2 separate regions of the Homo sapiens genome follow, and region 2 is linked to region 1. Evidence: promoter capture Hi-C in human tissues and cell types (Jung and others, 2019). All regions are on one chromosome and are shown on one strand. The core of a region is centred on a gene start or on the middle of the fragment in contact, and the rest is flanking DNA. Distances in the headings are between cores, read along the strand shown. Region 1 holds the start of GLRB (glycine receptor beta). Region 2 has its middle 9.0 kb from the start of PDGFC.

Region 1 (6,244 bases), core at 450-2,949:
TCACAACATATTTAGTATTTTTTATATAGTAGTTGTAAAGTCTTTTTTATATAGCAGTAAAAGTCAGTTTAAATAATGGCACATAGAAAACAAGACCGCCAACGAGATATAATAGGTTACTGTATAAAATTTCTGATTCTATAGCTACACAAAATTATAAATTGATATTGAATTGCACAGTATATCAAAAATATGTTCAGAAAGATATCTGGAAGCATGGTTTAACACAGCGTTAAAATGATTATCTTCGGCTAGTACTTTGGAAGTATCTTTTTCTTTTTAAATTTTTATATTGTTTGAAGTTCTTATGTATATTTTTTCAAAAATAATGTATTTTAAAGAAAAAGAAATTCTAAGTATTAAAAAAGACAGATAAAAGAAAAAGTTAATATCAAAGAGTTCCACATTCAAAATTCATTGCTTTTTTTATTTAAACACATTACATTGGCAAGCTACCTTTTTGCCCCAAAAAGGTGCCTCTTAAGTTAGCTTTAAAGCTTTCTTACTTATTTGCTACTAACATTTGTCATCAAAAAGATTACTTCAGAAATTCTACAACAAGAAATAAAACAAGTGTTGTTACATTTTTTTCAAATTATCGTCCTAGCCATATTTTAATAACATTTTCATGCTCAAATCAGAACCATATTCTTGCCAGAGATTCTGATAAATAAAAAATAATTAAGCCTCTACCTACACTAGAGAAGTTCAAACTCTTCTGCAACCTTCATTTCCAAACCATAAATTGTTTCTCTTTCATTGTTTTCCGCAGAGTAAAAGACCTGTCATATTCTTCAACGCTAACTTAATTCCCATCTCACCCTCAGAAATTTGCTTCTCCTTATGTCATGTTTTTCATCTTCCCCCCCCCCCCCCAGGATTCTTCCCCCCATATTTATCTTTTACACACACTCCAGGCAAGCCAGAGGGGCTTCTCCCTGGGTACTTTAAATTGAAGACAACAGAGGGGGCTCATCAGACCAACAGCAACAACACAAGGTTCTCCTCTGGCAACTTCACAACATTGGACGCTCCCTTCCCCCATCCGACAGCGGCACCTGCTTCCAGACACCTTGCCCACAGCAGCAGGTACTTCTCCCACTTTCACATCCTTGCCCCCGCAAAAAGGAGGGCCGAGCCCCCCTAACGCTTCGAAAAACAGAGAAATTCACCACTCTGCTCTGTCCTCACCCCCAATCTTTCAAGGGGGACAGCTGCATTGACTGGAGGATCCTCATAAACAAAACAACGCAAGGAGCCCTCCTGGCCAACCTTGCGTTTCCTAATTACCCCGGCCCTCTGCATCTCTCCACCCGGAGCGTCTCCGCGGGCGCCACCGCAGCGGGGACCCGGCTGCCGCTGCCAGGCGCCCCGCGCCCCTCTCCCGCGCAGGGCAGCGCGCGTCCTCCCGGGCACGCCGCAGTGCTCCTCGCGCTCCGCCGCCCCGGGCTTGACCCGCTGTTTCCGCAAAGGCGTCTATTCCCGTCCTCAGACCACCGTCGCCGCCCCAACCCGCGTCCCCTCCTCCTAAGTGGAGCTCCTGGCACTTACCCGGAGGCGCCCCTGCCCACAATCGCCGGGCGAGATCGTGGAGGCTCCGGGCCCAGGTGGCAGTGGCTGCTAAGGGTGCAGCGGGCGCCGAGCGGGGGCAGCTGCGTCCCAGCCGCCCGCGCCACCGCCGAGCTCGGCTGACGCGCCTGCTCGGGCCGCGGAGCCTGCGCCGTGGCGCGCCGCGGTCGGGGCCGCAGCGGGGACAGCGCGGGCCGCGGGGGAACCTGGCGACCGCGGGCGGGGGAGGGAAGAGGTGTCCCGACAGAGCAACGTCACGGCATCGTCCCCTTCAGGCATTGGAGGGGTTACCGAGCAGAAATGTGTACCCCCCTCACTCCTTAGGGGACTAAAGGAGTTGGGGACGAAGGGCGGGAATGATAGTGTCGGTACAAAAAGAAAAAACCTTTCAAGGAGCTGGGATTGCTTGGGGTCAGCTTTTGACCACTAGCAACAAACAACAGAGCAACAAATGACCTTCTTGGGTCAAAGCGAACAAAACACATTTTCTGTCATTTCACCATTTGCCTGGAACCCAGACATCCAGCTTAATCTCCGGGTCTTCCAATTTCTAAAAGCCTGAACTTTCTGAGCAAGCTTAAATTGGTCAAAATTACTGACAATATAGTCATACAGGTAATACTATGTTTAACATCTGTTACATAATTAACATGTGTACAGAACTTGACAGTTGCAAAACACCTTTCACTCGCCTTATCTCATGTGGCCCTCACCACATTCCTGGGCAAGTTTTGTCATCCCCTTCTGTAGATGAAGAATCTGAAACTCAGTTATATTAAGAGATTTACTTAGAGTTACAGATCTTGAAAGAAATTTACCAGAGATTCAAAATTAGTGATTTTTGCATATCTGAACCAGACAGGGTCTCTGCCTTATAAGAGCAAAATACTGTTGTCCTCATCCTTGTGAAGAAGTAGCCCTTACTTGGATATGCAGCCCTTAGATAACAGATAAGGCTATCCTATTACCTCTTGAATGTATGCCTGATTGATTTTTTTTAATTGTTATTTTTTAAGCAACAGGAGCTCACTTTGTTGCCCAGGCTGGAGTGCAGAGGCACAGTCATCGCTCACCGCAGTCTTGAACTTCTGGGCAATCAAGAGATCCTCTTGTCTCGGTCTCCCTAGTAGAGTAGCTGGAACAACAGACAGGCCATTGCGCTCCACTAATTATTATTATTATTTTTTAAGAGACAGCATCTCTGGCTTTGTTGTCCAGGATGGTCTCCAACTCTGGCCTGAAGCCATCCGCCTGCCTTAGCCTCCCAAGCTGGGGGGCTTACAGGCTTGAGCCACCCCACCCCACTGCACCAGGTCCTGATGGATTTTTTTTATTAAAAAAGCATTGTCTCAAGTGAGCATCACTTAGCATTGTATTGTGGACCCACAGATGTATCCACTAATAAATTTTTCCACCCGCAGCATATGGAGGGAAGGAATATTTCCTGCATATAACCGTGTTCCATAAGCTTCATGAGATATTCTGCTGCCTAAGAGTAGTGATCATTAATAAGTGATCATTACCTTATTTACATTACAAAATGATCATTATTCAAAGAGCTGTACTGTTTGAAGACCCCCCCGCCAAAGTGGATCAGGATATAACTTTGGATTTTAATGCTTTATTAGAGAGAACTATATTGATAATATACGTTTCATAAGATATAACTTTTGGTGAATAGGTCATATGAAGAATGATAAAGGAATTAGTTTTCATGCAGCCAGGGGAGTTTAGAAGTTGGCGAAAACCTTACACTTAGTTTTCAATTAATCAAGAAATTATTAAGAGTTTAGAATAATAGGAATTCCGATTCCTGTAATAAAATGAACATCTTTTATTTACAAACTCTAATGTCCACATTTGGAAGAACTATGCTGAAAATACCTACAACAGACTTGCTCACCTTCCCTAGTATTGTTTCTGTGCCATCCATGGATGTTATATTGGAGAATTAGGTTATTCAGAAGAAAAGCAAGTCCAGCAGGTTGGATGGGTTTGTAGGGTTTTGGCCCAAAGGTTAAGAAATATAGTTGATGCCCTAAAAGCACTTCTTCTAGCCTGTAAAATGGTCAAGTTCAGAATTCTGAAAATTTTTTTCTATGAAAGTGATCTGCTTACCTATATTTCTATAACTTTTATATCATAGTGTGAAAAGGGATGCTTCTAAATAATGTCATGAAATAACCTATTTTCCCCAATTCTGTCAAGTGTTGATCTACTTTTCTCTATTTATTTCTATCAATATTCACTCCTTTAGTAATTTCATCTGGTCACAAGGTTTTAAACACCATGTTGATAGCTCCCATATGTACTTCTCCTGACTAGACATCTCTCCAGAACTCCAGACTCATCTATCTAACTGCCTTTTCAACATTTCAACTTGCGTATTTAATAAACATGTCAAACTCAGTGTGTCCCAAACTGAGCTATGGTTCTCCCTAAAATCTGCCCCACATTCAGCCTTCTCCTTCTCAGTTCACGGCAACCTCATCCTTAGGGTTGGTCAGGCTAAAAATCATGAAGTTGTTCTTGATTCCGCTCTTTTTCTCACACCTCACAACCAAATCTCTGAGGAAATCCTGTTTACTCTCAAATGACAACAGGAATTCAGCTACTTCTTATGATTTTTACTGCAGCCAACCTAGACTCAGTGACTTTCATCTCTACGTTAGATTACTATAATAGCACTTTAGCTACTCACCCTGCCTCTATCATTGTCCTCTCCTACCCTTGAGTAATCTCAAAACAGTAGCCAGAGTGATCCCTTTAAAACATGTCATAGGTCATATTGTGTCATTCCTCAACTCAACACCCAGCAGTTAGTCCCCATTTTATAAACCAGTGTTTACAATGGTCTACAAACCTTCAATTGTTATGCATCTCCTCCCCCTAACTCTGACTTCTTCTCTCCTAATGGCTCGCTCTCTTTCAGCCCTGCTGATCTTGCTGCTTCTCCAACATGCCAAAGCCAGGTATGGTCCCATCTTAGGTTATTGGCTCCTCTGTCTAAAATGCTTTCCCCCCAGACCACCACATGACTGACTCCCTCATATCTTCAACATCAACCCAGATGTCACCGTCTCACAGAGATTTATCCAATGTTATTTAAAAGTGCAAACCATCTCCCATCCAAAGATTTCCAATCCCCCTTTGCCTGCTTTTCTTTTTGTTTTCATAGTACTTATTACCTCCCAACTCATCATACAATATACTTACAGTTTGTGGCCTCTGTTTCCTTGCTAAAATGTAGGCTTCATGAAGGCAGAGATTTGTATCTATTTTTGTCCATTGATGTTGCCCACACACCTAGAATAGTGTTGAATGAATGTGTAAATCTTGGCCTCATTTATTAATTTCTTCAAATTTCATGTTTCTTTATTAGTAAAATGAAAATGACAATGCATAATTTGCAGGATTGTACCAAGAAATAAACAGGTTAATTGACGTTAAAAATCTGCTGCAGAGAAGAAAAGTCACAAAGAATTAACCTCCCCTATTTTTGCTTGTTTTTATTTGCTTAATGGAATGATAGAATTTTGTTGTGGCTGTTTTTTTTTTAATTATTTTTAATTTTTGTGGGTACATGCATTTTTTGCTTACTGGGACCCTGTTATCCATTTCTTTCTTGTACGTCTACACTGAGAACATTTTGTAGGCCTACATCTAAACACTAAAAACCTTCTAACCTTCTTTTCTTTCTTTTTTCTTTTTTTTTTTCTTTTTGAAACAGGGTCTGGCTCTGTCGCCCCGGTTGGAGTACAGTGGCATGATCTTGATTCACTGCAACCTCCTCCTCTCATGCTCAAGCAAACTTCCTACCTCAGACTCCTGGGTAGCTAAGGACTCTATTTTCTATGCATCCATCTTCACCTGGCCTATAATATATTTATTTTATTTGACTTGATAATAAAACCTAAATACAGCCCTAAATATCTTCTGTTATACTAAGAAATCAAACTTTGGATACAGAGAGAGTATTCTCACCAAATCATTTTTTGTGTGTGACATAAGTACTCATCACTGTTGCCATTGCCTAAATAGCCTTACAACATGGTTTAAAGATATAAATTATTTTTTTCTGTATTCTCTCTACATGAGTCATACTTCCTCTTTAATGACAGCCTGCACTGTAATAGTCATTCATGAAATTTTTCATCAAACTTTCAGTCCATTTACCACTATAATGATCAGATATTTTCAATAAAAGTATGTCCAGCTGTTTTAGATATGGTTCTCCTCCAAATCATCATCTTTAAACATTTATCAAAATAGATAATGGGAGAATAAATATAAATAAAGAGAAAATTACAGCAGAAGATGATGAGAATAGTGGGACAGTAATTCAGCATCTTGCAAACACTGTTCATAAAACTTGAAAGACAGTAAAACTTACATTAGGAAATGTTGATTTGTAGCCAGTCTTATTAGAATAATAAAAACATTATTTGATATTTGATAAAATCACTTCCATATGTTTTCTTCAAATAGCACATTATCCTTAAAATGTTCTGCAATCTCTTATTTTTAAACTAACTTTTAAACAATAATAGCCATCTTTCATTGATTACCTATTAATTGCAAAAAAATTTTCTACATTATGGTTTTAAAACTTCAAAATTTACTTGCAAGTTATTTTCATATCCATATTTTTGATGAGAAACCAGAGGAGAGGCTC
Region 2 (6,354 bases), core at 39-2,538, 93 kb after region 1:
GTATACTCAAACCAAATATATCTCTTATTTATTCAAATTCCTGTCTATGATTCCTTTTATGTTACAGATTACAATACACATCAAATAAGTGGCAAAGTTAATGATATGAGACAGATGTGGCTATCTCCCAAGCCTACATACAAAATAATAATTTGAATATTTTTAGAGAAAAACAGAGGATGTGATTTACTATCCATAAAAACTCAGTTTATTTGTCTGTATTGTTGAAATTAGCTATGTTTTCTTTGAGAAGGAAAACAGAAAACATATGACTTCAAAAAATATTTTTAATATGATGTCTAATTCTCAACAATTCTAAAGAAGCTGGACAATAATATTTTAAGTTTATGCATACATGATGGTTGCACTTCTTTTAAAATATGCCTAATAGTCACCATAGTAACAGATGCAGAGTCTCCTCTATGTGCCTCCTGGTGTTATCAATGTGAATAACAGCACAGTGTTAGAAAGGCAAACAACAAATTCATAGCAGCACATCATGAGATCAGTTTTAATAACTGTAGTGTGTTTAATTTACATTTAAATCTAGAAACGATTAATATTTATTATTATTATCATATAATGATACAGAAAATATTTTCTTTTGTATCTAGAAAATATTAATATTAATGCAAATATAATTTGCATATGTATAGAAGAATAGACAGATCCATCAATCAATATCCTTTTACACTACTCTGTGGAGTTCAAACAATATAGTCTTGTTCCTGCAGGGCCACCAGCACAGGCCAAAACAGAAATTGGCCACTGACATAACTCATATTTTTATGAAAGGATAATGACTAAAGACAACATAAAAATCCTAAATTGTTAAACACTTAAAGAATAATTGGGATAACAGATTTTTCTTAAAAAGGGCATATTTTGACTAGAAAATCTATCCTTCTTCCTTGAGAGCTTCCTTCCATTCTTCTTTCTTAGATTCCACATTCTTTTCCCTGCTCCTATATAAGCTTTTGTTCATTTCCTTGTTTTAAATAATTTTTAATATTTTTAGAGTTATCTATACTCTTCGTCTGGCCAGAAATGTCTTCAAGGCCCAAGTAATATTGCCTTTAGCAATTATCTTTCTGCAAAAAAAAATGAGAGAATATTTTGGTAGAAAACAAATAATTACAAATTGAATTAGAAGATGTTGGAAATGGAAGGCATCTTGAAATCAACCAGGGTGAATTACATGTTTGCAGTGATAGAAACCAAGGACCAGAAAAGTTGTTGTTCTTGTTGTTGTTCTTCTTTGTCTTCTTCTTCTTTTTGTTAAAGTCACATATCTAATTGGGATAGAACTCAGAATTTCTGCTTGTGAGTACTCTCCAGGGTACCGTGGTGTCCATTGTTTTGAACCAACAATTGATATGTTTTGAAACGTTTTTTGAACTTTCAAAATTAAATTACTAATGAAAACTCACTCTCACTTAAAAAATATGTGCTAGCTTTTCCCTATGAAGCTTTTTGCCTGATCATTTCATGAGGGACATTTAAATGGAGTAGTGGTAAAAACTCCATACCATGTCAGCTGCAAATGTGTCATTTCTGCATATAAAATGTATCAGATGAAACTTGCTAAGGGATAAGAAAAATATCATCATAACCAGTATTTTATATCATGCTTAATAGAATAAATATTTATGAGCTTGAAAAGTCATTAAGTAGTTATATTTTATCTGAGCTCATTAATGTAGTTTTTACTACTCTGCAATGAATTTATTTATTCAGTATAATAAAATATCAATATATCAAAATAATAAATCATTGCCAGATAGGGGAAAAAAGTGGCATGTTTGGTTCATCCCATAGCAGTTTTTCTATTTTTTTGACATTAACTCAGATCTGAAGTCTAATATCATAGTAAAAGTAATTTCTAAAAGCACATGAAATGTAAAATAAATTGTCATTTAACTAATTTACTTTAGGTATGAATAGTCATAAAACCGCAACACTTCATATCCCATGTGAGCTTCGTGGCTCTTAAAATTTCTTCTGTCCAGGCAGCCATAGGCATCAATTATTTAGAGACCACATTCACACACAAATATACATTTTAAACTGTAACATGAAAACTTCAAAACTAATAAAAAAGAATTATATCTGAGGTCATATTTTCAAAACATGAAGAAGATACTTTCATAGAAGTTATTTTCCAAAATGATGACATCTTGGATATGACAGATTGGTTACTAAATAGACAGAGACTTGTGAACCATCTGCTATGTAAGATTTCTCTATCAAAAAGAATTAACTCTATTTAAACCAGTCAGACAATATGAGCATGGGCTGTTTGCCAGTCCTGAGAAATAATCTTGTAATATTGGAAAGAATGTTAACACAGTATTTATGAAAAGACAAACACAGCATTGCTTCCATTTTGGAAAGTACCTACTGGATCCTCTTTCCAATTCACCGAAAAAATGGAGTTACATGCATAATTTTCACTTATGTGTGAGCTTAGAGGTTCAGTACAGCTTGACTGCTGTTTTCCATAATTTAGAGCTTCCTTTTACAAGATCCCCAACTTTGACTGACAGCCAAGCAAGAAAATGAACTCCACATGGCTCCAGTCACCCTAATTATGTCAGATGTTGCTGCTCTTCCTTCTATTTTTCTTCCATGAAGATTTAGCGTGGGTATATCTGCATTTTGGTGACTTCATATTTTTGTTAATTTCACTCAAAAAATAATTAAAATGCATGTTAAACGTGGAGCACCACATATACAATGTCCAACACTGGAGTGAGGAGGAGGAGGAGGAGAGATGGTTGGCAGATTAAAACAAAAAGAGGAAAGGAAAATTTCTGCTGTCAAAGATTTTGTAATCAATTGCAGGGAGGTATATCAGCAAAGCTATAAAATATAACGATAATATTGGGCAGTGAGGTTGAGGATTGGCATACAAAATTTTTAGAAGGTTAAGAGAGACTCATCCTGGTATTGTGATGGCAAAAAATAGGATGGACTATAGAAAAAGGCTTCTTTATTTAGTAAAAATAATTATTTAGTATTATATTGATTTTAAGATACCATTGCTTATAAAATTCCCCATTTAATTAAAATAGCCTTTTGGGAAGAAAAAAAAATAGTTGTTAAGTTTCTTCTTACATTGAATGTAAGCTATCTGAATTTCAGAAATGTTAAAACAGAAAAAAGTTTATCTCCTAATTAAAAAGAATACAATTACACAATCCATTACATGTTCTGCATGTTTAAAACACACAGGTCATTGTGTCAAAGGCTTCACATACTTTGTCTCATTTAATTCTTATTATATCTGAAGTAGATTCTGTTATTATCAGTTTGTAGTGATGGTGGGTCTCATGCTGGGGAATATGATTGCTGGTATTTGTTTCCTCAGTTTAGGTAAGGGGCTAAGATGTTAGCTTCTATGTTTGACTCCAGTGCTTGGATCTTGGCTGGGAGTCTACACTGCCTCCAAATACTAGTTGAACACCCTCTGTTACATGAGGCAGAGTGATGTAATGGTCAAGTGCATGAACTATACAAGCTAAAAACCCAGCTCTGCCACTTATCACTTGTGTGGTTGTAAATGAAATGCTTAGCCCTCAGTAGCTCACTTTCCTCCGCTATAAAACTATTATGATTTTATAATATCTATTTCATATGTTTGTTGTGAGAATAAAGCAGTGAATATACATGAAGTCCTTAGGACAGTACCTGGCACATGGGGAGACTTAGCAATTATTATTTGATAAGTGCAATATGTTAAGTGCTGGGAAAAAAGAAGATGAATAAAAAGCAAAATAGGGTCAGGTGCAGTGGATCACGCCTGTAATCCCAGCTCTTAGGGAGGCCAACGCAGGCAGATCACTTGAAGCCAGAAGTTTGAGACCAGCCTGTCCAACGTGGTCAAACCTCACCTCTACTAAAAATACAAAAGCTAGCCGGGTGTGGTGGCACAGGCCTGTAATCCCAGTTACTCCAGTGGCTGAGACATGAGAAACACTTGAACCCAGAGGCGGAGGTTGCAGTCAGCAAGGCCAGATCATACCACTGCACTCCAGCTTAGGCATCAGAGTGAGACTCTAAAAAAAAAAAAAAAATCAAAATAGAATAGACTTATATAATATATTGGGTTATGCATCATTGTGGAAGGAGCATAAGAAAAGATGCAAAAACTAAGTAGGAACATGTAAGTTGCCGTATGTCAGGAAACTACAAGACACTCAGAGAGTGTGAGATTTGGGCACTTAAGGAAGAGCAGATCATTGCTAGGAGTATAGATTTTATTCTGCAGGCAAAGGAAGACTGAAAACTTTGGAGTAGGGCATCCTGATCAGGTTTTTGTTTTAACTAGATCAAGCTGATAATCTGATGACAGTTTGGAGAAGCATAAAAGTAGCCTAGGTAGAAAGCAGTTGGGAGGCCTTTGTGCAAGGAATAGATAGATCATGGGAGAAGATAGGGTGTATACTTAACATGGGAAAAAGCAAATGCAGATTGATGGGATGTGCAAAAATAAGCGGGAGAAATGGTGAGGGCAACAATAATGCATTTTTACTTCCACTGTAACTTCTTGGGCTCAACAGGTTGCTTTAATGTTTCTGACAAATAGCTATTTTGATAAAGTTCAAGATACTCTCAAGGTTAGTAGTAACAGAACTGCCTCCCCCTTACAATCTCACCTTCACCAAGAAAATAGCCAGTCATCGCACTAACTTTGATTTTTCCTGTTATTGTCCTTCAGAAACGTATTTGAATACACCTTTTGTGTTTCCTTCATCATAAGTTGTCAGAACCAGCAACACTTTAATGGTGATTTTACGGCAAGGTTTTACTGCTAACAAAGGGCACCATATAATCATTTTTCCTTCACAAGGTTTCAGAAGATTAATTTTTCATTTCTAGACCCACTAAAGAGAGTATTCAATCGAGATACAGTATTGCGACGTTTTCATTGACCGAATGCCTGTTTCCTGTATGCTTGAGGCATCCTTCTTTGGATATCAGACAAAATCACTATGATTTATTTTTTGTGATTGGCCATAGAATTTTAAGTTACATATTTATGACTGGAATTGTGTGTAGTCATAAAATAAACACCAAATGCTTAATATAAATGTATACTTAATAAGTTTGAAATGTGTTTTTTAAGACACGGTATATTTATCACTTGCTAGATGACATGAGGCAATGCAAACATGATACTTTAAAGTGCCAGTTCTAAAACCAGTTATCTGAACTCTAAGTCAGGCTTCTATACTTATGAACTGTGTGACCTTGGGTAAGCCCAAAAACCTCTCTGTGGCTCAGTTTTTCATGTTAAAAATGGGAAATTCTATTAATATCTACTCAGAGTTTTTGTAGTTAATTTATCAATTGTTTAATATGCAGTACAGGATTCCCTTTCTAGAGTAGTTCATTGTGAACATTTCAGTAAAAGGAGTTAAAAATGTGATGGATCTATAAGATATTAAATGAAAGTAGGCAGGCTACTGTATTCCCAGACCAGGCAATAGTTAATTTGTATACCAGACTAAATAGATTCTGAAAAATGAGAAATTTCTTCCCGTTAGCAAGTTAGGCATGCTGGATGTGGGTGTATACAGTGATAATAATCTTCTGATGGAAATCCAGATAGACAGAAAGAAAGAATATTACGAAGTGCATTGACTTCCTAAAGTACTGTTTTTACTGACGCATAGTACATAATAATTTACCTCAATAAAAATAAATAATAGGAGCTATGGCAATTAGCTGTGTCCACATTTTTCTATTTAGTTTTACGTGTGTTTTAAAAGCCATTTATGAAGGAAATAAATGTAAAGAATTTTTTCCACTTGCTGTCCAGTGGGACAAAAATGGCACCATAGGGTCTTTTCATATGGTATACCCCTTCAAATACAAATGGAATGTATCTATGGAATTAGAATTTCAATTGAAGACTTTTGCTTGCCTGAGGGCTTAACAAGTCACTAGTCCCTTCATGCAGCAGTCTTTGTGCTTTGAATAACTCCAACTAATCTAAAATACCTTTGTAAAATTATCAATAGGGATGCAAATTTGCCTCACCATGCCACTTAAAAAACTCTTGGACTAAGTATTTTAAATTAGAAACATGTGGAAGGATGTCTATAGGAATTACATATATAAGAAAGGTCTAGATTCTGACATCTATAGCTAATCACAAATTGATTCTTCAAAGGGAGTAACTGGGAAAACAGCATATTTCTTCCTAGCCATGATGCTTCAATTCAGTAGCAATCATGAGTAGAAAAAGAGGAATGATAATTCACTCCCTTTGTCCTCAAAGACAAGGAGATAGATTCTTTGAAATAACTGCCCACAGATGGTCTAGGCTTAGACATTGGCCGGATGACT

The links. Contacts are between HindIII fragments. The study calls those that stand out against the background at their distance.
Region 2: a contact is called between a fragment that was not itself captured here and the fragment with the promoter of GLRB in region 1, in 2 of the 25 tissues and cell types used here (hippocampus and mesenchymal stem cells).

What each region holds. Positions count from the first base shown.
Region 1 is chr4:157,071,605-157,077,848 of GRCh38, reverse strand. GLRB (glycine receptor beta) reads right to left here and starts at 1,699. Exons shown (of 10, transcript NM_000824.5): 1 at 1,552-1,699. RefSeq lists a silencer at 4,298-4,592. The HindIII fragment of the contact is 3,601 bases long and covers 1-2,591 here.
Region 2 is chr4:156,977,640-156,983,993 of GRCh38, reverse strand. No RefSeq gene overlaps it. Among named protein-coding and RNA genes, the nearest start is that of PDGFC, 9.0 kb to the right of the region's middle. The HindIII fragment of the contact is 5,507 bases long and covers 1-4,041 here.